2 separate regions of the Homo sapiens genome follow, and region 2 is linked to region 1. The links are contacts of gene promoters, found by promoter capture Hi-C in human tissues and cell types (Jung and others, 2019). All regions are on one chromosome and are shown on one strand. The core of a region is centred on a gene start or on the middle of the fragment in contact, and the rest is flanking DNA. Distances in the headings are between cores, read along the strand shown.

Region 1 (3,013 bases), core at 134-2,633:
CAAAACTCAGATCTCGGGGAGACAGGGGAAGGAGAAGGCTGAGCTAAAAGAGAGCCTTACTGAAAGAAAGCAAATAAGTGAGAGGGAGTCTGTGCCCTCTGAGATGGAATGAGGAAAAGATAAAAGTATTCATGGGCTCAAAGGCAGCTTCAGCAGTGAATATGGAAAAGGAATGAGCCCGTTCACTGTCTCAACACTAAAAGGGAAATAATATAGGGTCTTTTTCTAAACCAGCATCCATGGCAGTCAATAATAAAAGTGCCTAACTAATGCAAGGCATTTAATACGTGGAGGATTTTCTTACGATTGCATTCCATACATTAGTCCATTCACTCCCCGAAACACACCGAATAGGTGGATGCATCTAATTTACAGATGAAGAAACCGAGATCACACAATGGGAGATAGCACAGGCTGGTAAGAGAGACTGGGGCGCTCATCCACTTCGTTGTACTGTCTCTCAGCGAGATCCTAGGAAAACCCTTACACTTCTTTGTGAAGACAGACCTTGGCTTTCCAGATTTTCTCAAAGGAGTCTGGGCCCAAAAAGCGATCCTCTACTTCAGAGAAAAGTTCCTTTATGGGGCATATGAGGTTCTTCCAAGCACACAAAGCTTAGAAACTCTTTAAAAACAAACAAAACACCTGGTGGACACAGAGGCCTGTGAGTCATGAAAGGAGAAGGGAAAAATCGGAAAACCAGATTTAGAAGCCATCCTTCTTTGAAGAGAACGAGAAAGTAGAAAGCAGCCCTTCCCCTCTTCCACGAGGCGTGACTCAGGGACGTTACCTCCCCCGATTTGCTCTATGCACTAAGAGGGTGACCCTCCTCTGCTTTCGACTCTGGCCCAGACACTCACGGGTTACCCGGCCAGGCCTGGAGAACCCAGGTCTAAACAGATGGGACTCGTGGGGGAACAAGGGGGCCCCTGTGCGCAGGGAGGGAAACCTACCCAGGAACGCGCCCGGCCGGGTCCAAAGGCCCTCCGCGCGCGGGCCCGCGCCCTCGCCCCAGACCTTACCGCCTTCGGCTGCAGAAGAACTGGCGGCCAAGCGAGGCTGTCGGGCCGAGCCAGGAGCGCGTCTTCGGGCGCCGCCGCTTCTGTGGCGCCCGCGCTTAGGCGGCGGCCGGGTCCCGGTGGACTCACACCCGGGGAGACGCGGCCTGCCCGGTCAAGGCCCAGGAGTTTGAGGCCCCAGAACGCCAACCGTGCGCGCGCCCTCGAGCCTGCCCAAAGATGAAGGGTCAGGGCGCGCCCCGCGGGCCGGGCAGCTGCGGCAGCGCCGCAGCCGAGATCGCTACCGATTTCGTCCGCCCTCTCCCTGCCCAGCTACAGCCCCGCTTCCCCCGCGCGAGCTTTGGCGGCGGAGCAGCACAGTGCGCGCCGATTGGCCCTCAGAATGTGCGACGCCTGGCGCCGCTCCCCACGGATTGGCCGGGCCGGCAGTGCGTGCACGGAGTAAACAAACCCCGCCCCCAGGCTTCCCTTTGAGAGTAGGGGGCCAACAGATGGAGGGGCGGGACTCGTGCACTCAGCCACCGCCCCTTGGTTCCCCCTGTGGCCTCCCTGGGAGCCCTCCGCAGGACCCGACCACCCCGCTTCCCCGCCGCCTCCAGGGACAGCTGCGGGCCTGAGGCCTAGAATTTTAGACACACTTCCTTCATCACTCCTATCTCATCCCCCCTACTCCCACCCTGCGACTTGGGTGGGAATCTCTTTTCCAACTGACCCCGAAGCCAGAAAACCCCAGCTCTCTTGGAAGGAGGGGGACTGGGGCAGTTCCATTCGGTCCCCAGGCCTTTGCGGGGTCGCCCTGGGGGAGCATCAATAAGGGACAGGGGGGCGAGTGATCGTGATTGAGGCTATGCGTGGGGCCAACTGTGGGACACCTTGAAATTATTCAGACAATGAGTTAGAGACCACTGGGAATGTGGAGGTTCTTCAATATCAAGGCAAGTTAATACCCAAACCAGGACAGGTCATTCTGTCCCGCGGAAACTGCACACACCCCAAATACCCGTACACTTGGTTCCATATGAAAAGATTTTGTTCATTCGTTCGTGCCGAAGTTAAAAACCCCGTGTGAACAGCGCATTAAAACGATTAGATCTTTCTCATTTTACTCCAGTCAAATCTTATAGATCTTCTATATGCCACTTTGTTTGTTTTTGAGACGGGGTCTTGCTCTCACCGAGGCTGGAGTGCGGTGGCAGGATCACGGCTCATTGGAGCCCTGACTTCCCAGTCTCAGGTGATCCTACCACCACAGCCTCCCGAGTAGCTGGGACTACAGGCCCGCGCCACCACACCCGGCTGTTTCGCCATGTTTCCCAGGCTGGTTTGGAACTCCTGGACTCAAGAGATCCTCCCGCCTGGGCCTCCCAAAGTGGTGGGATTACAGGCGTGAGCCACCACGCCCGGCCCCAAACACTATTCTTGATATGGGGAGACATCAGTGGACAAAATAGAGACAAAAACTCCTGCCTTCATGGAGCTTACATTCTAGCAGGATGGGAAAGATAATATGCAAAAGAATACGTAAAACAAAAACTATATTACATGCTGGTATGTGTGCTATGGGAAAAAAATATAAGCAGAGGTGTTGGAGGAATGGCTTCAGTCCTAAATAGAGTGATCTGGGAAGGTAGCACGGAGAAGGTGGTATTTAAGCAAATGCCTAAAGGAGATGAGATAGGTAAGAGAGCACTTTCAGATCTTTCTCTGGGGCAGGGTGGAGAGACAATTGTATGCATAATTGCATGTAACTAGTCCTGAGAGTCCAAGAATGTCAAATGCAGTACTCCACTGACTGATTCTAAAATGCAAAAACCCCAGTGATTACTTCACATTCTCCAGTAACAAATCAATAAAAATTTAGTTTCCACAAAAAATATAACTTTAAGAAAACTTAAAGTTATATTCAACAAATACTTTTCACTCTAGGTACTACGTATACAAAAATGAGCAAGACAGACAAAACATCCACCCTCAAGGAACTCAGTGTAGCAGAG
Region 2 (3,013 bases), core at 155-2,654, 550 kb before region 1:
CTTAGTGGAAAAGTAGTCATCATGAGTAAAGAAATGGGGAATCTCAGCCAAAAAAGAAAATAAAAAGGGAATCAAATGGAAATTCTAGAATTGAAAAGCACGATACCTGACATCAAAAATCTGATGGGCTTAACAACAGATTGGTTCACTGAACTTGAAGATCGATCAGTAGAAATGAACCAATCTAGAACACAGAAAAGACTTGGGGGAAATGAACAAAACCTCAGTGACCCTTTAGTACAATATCAGGTAGTCTAACATATGCATGGTTGGTGTCCTAGAAGGAGAGTAGAGAAAGAATTGGACAAAAAAAAAAATTTTTTTTTGAAGAAATAATGGCCTAAAATTTCCCAAATTTGGTGAAACAGTATCTTATAGATCTGAGAAGCTCAATGAACTGCAAGCATGATAAACGCAAAGGAAACCGCACTTAGACATAAAATAGTCAAACCAGAGATAAAGAGAAAATCTTGCAAGCAGAGAAACAAAAGACAAGATACATACACAGGGGAACAACAGTACAGTTGACAGCCAACTCCTCATAAAAAGCAACTAAAACTGGAGGACAGTGGAATGACCTGTTTAAAATGCTAAAGGAACAAAAGTCTCAACCTAACATTCTAGAGAAAATTTTCTTTGAAAATGAAAATATATTTTAAATAAATGAAAGCTGAGAGAGACTCCATTGTGAGCAAGCCTGCACTATAAGAAATGCTAAAGGAAATTCTTCAGGCTGAAAGGAAATAATACCAGATGGAAACTTAGATCTACAAGGAGTAAAGAGCACTGGAAATGGTAAATATGTGGGTAAATGTAAGAATGCCTGTTTTTTTTTTCTCCATTTCTTTAAAAAGCAACTGTTCGATGCAAAATGTATAACATTTAATTATAGGGTTTATAACATATCTGGATATGAAATATATGACAGTAACAGCACAAAGGAAGGGGGTGGAGTAAATTATTCCAAGGGTCTTATATTTTATGTGAAGTGATGCAAGAATAATTTTAAGTAGACTGTGATGAGTTAAGGCTGTATATTATAATATCTAGAACAAAAATTTAGGGAAATACTTGACATAACTAATCCATCCCCTCTCCTCCTCCCAAACAATAAATAAATTAAAATGTGAGGAAGGGAAGAACAGAGGAGCAAAAATCAGATGAGACAGACAGAAAACGTATAACAAAATGATAGCTTAAACCCAGCCATATCAATAATTACAGTAAATGTAAATGAACTACAATACATTGAAAGAGACTATCAGACTATATTTTAAAAAGCAAGATCCAATAATATACTTTCTACAATATATCCACGTTAAATATATTATAAAAGCACAGATAGGTTGAAAGTAATTGGGTGGAGAAAGATGATGTAAACAGTAAGCAGTAATCCCAGACCAAGTAGATGTCAAAACAACTTTTACCAAATATGTTTGGGCACATTTTATAATGGCAGAAGGAGCACATAATCCTAAATGTGTACATACCTAATTACAACTTCAATGTAGTTGGAGAAAAAAACAGAATTGAAATAGGACATCTACAATTCTAGTTGAATTTTTTTTTCTTTTTTTCTTTTTTCTTTTTCTTTTTTCTTTTTTTGAGACAGGGTCTTGCTCTGTCTCCCAAGCTGGAGTGCACAGACATAGCTCACTGCAGCCTTGACCTCCTGGGCTCAAGAGATCCTCCTGCCTCTGCCTTCTGTGTACCTGGGACCACAGGTGGACGCCACCACATCTGGCTGATTTTCTGATTTTTTGTAGCTGCAAGGTCTCACTTTGTTGCCCAGGGTGGTCTCAAACTCCTGGACCCAAGTGATCCTCCTGCCTCGGCCTAGAATTAACAGGTATGAGCCACTGCACCTGGCCTGTACTTGAATATTTTAATAGTCTTCTCTCAGCAATTGTTAGAGGAGCTGAGCACAAGAACCAGTTTTCTTACAGAAGTTTGAAATAATACTATCAGTCACCTTGATCTAATTTACATTTATGGGACACTAGGCCAAACAGGTGCAGAATACATATTCTTTTGAAATGTGCATTGGAACATTCAGTAAAATAGGCCGCCATATGCTGGGCCTGGAGTCTCAGTAAATATCAAAAGATTGACTTTTTACAAAGTATGTTCTCTGATCACAACAGAATTAATGACAATATGATACCTGGAAGAGCCCCAAATATTTGGAAATTAAATAAAATACTTCTAAGTAACCTATAGATTGAAGAATTCACAAGGAAACTCAAAAATATTTTTAACTTAAATGATAATGAAAATGCAACAAATATATCAAAGTTTGTGGGATACAGCTAAAACAGTATGTAAAGGGAAATTGATTGTTATTAACAAGTAAAGAAAATCTTTGAGCCTTTATAGGTTAGGCAAAGATTTCTTACATAACTAAATGTATGGTCTATAAAAGAAAATATTTGATAAATTGGATCTCATCAAAATTCAAAAACATTTCAAAAGAGGACCATTAAGAAAATGAAAAGGTAAGCAACAGACTGGAAGAATATATTTGCAAAACGCTTATCTAATATACTTGTATCTAGAATTTTCAAAAACCCAATTTAAAAAGAGGACGATAGATATGAACAAACATTTTATCAAAGAGATTATACAAGTGGATAATAAGCATATGAAAAGATGCTCAACATCATTATTAGGGAAATGCAAATTAAAACCACAATGAGATACCATTTCACACCAACTAGAGTGTCTGTAACAAATAAGACAGACAATACCAAATGTTGTTGAGAATGTGGAGAAACAGAAACCCTCATACATTTCCAGTGGGAATGTAAAATAGGGGCTTTGACAGTCAGCAACTGGGCAGTTCTCAGAAAGTTAAACATAAAACTACTATACATGTAACCTAGCAATTCCACTGTTGGTTACCTACCCCAAAAGAAATGAAAACATATGCCCACACAAAGAATCGGAGTGAATGTTCAGAGCAGCGTTATTCACAATAGCCAAAAACTAGAAGCAACCTAAATGTCTATCAGCT

What was found. The method cuts DNA at HindIII sites, captures the fragments that hold promoters and counts their contacts. A contact is called where the count stands out against the background at its distance.
Region 2: a contact is called between a fragment that was not itself captured here and the fragment with the promoter of TFDP2 in region 1, in 2 of the 25 tissues and cell types used here (heart right ventricle and thymus).

Annotation. Positions count from the first base shown.
Region 1 is chr3:142,148,161-142,151,173 of GRCh38, forward strand. TFDP2 (transcription factor Dp-2) reads right to left here and starts at 1,384. Exons shown (of 13, transcript NM_001178139.2): 1 at 1,023-1,384. RefSeq lists silencers at 880-929, 1,160-1,229, 1,290-1,499, 1,610-1,659 and an enhancer at 1,029-1,529. The HindIII fragment of the contact is 11,710 bases long and covers 1-3,013 here.
Region 2 is chr3:141,594,048-141,597,060 of GRCh38, forward strand. All of the region lies in intron 19 of RASA2 (RAS p21 protein activator 2), which reads left to right. Among named protein-coding and RNA genes, the nearest start is that of RASA2-IT1, 70 kb to the left of the region's middle. The HindIII fragment of the contact is 4,526 bases long and covers 1-3,013 here.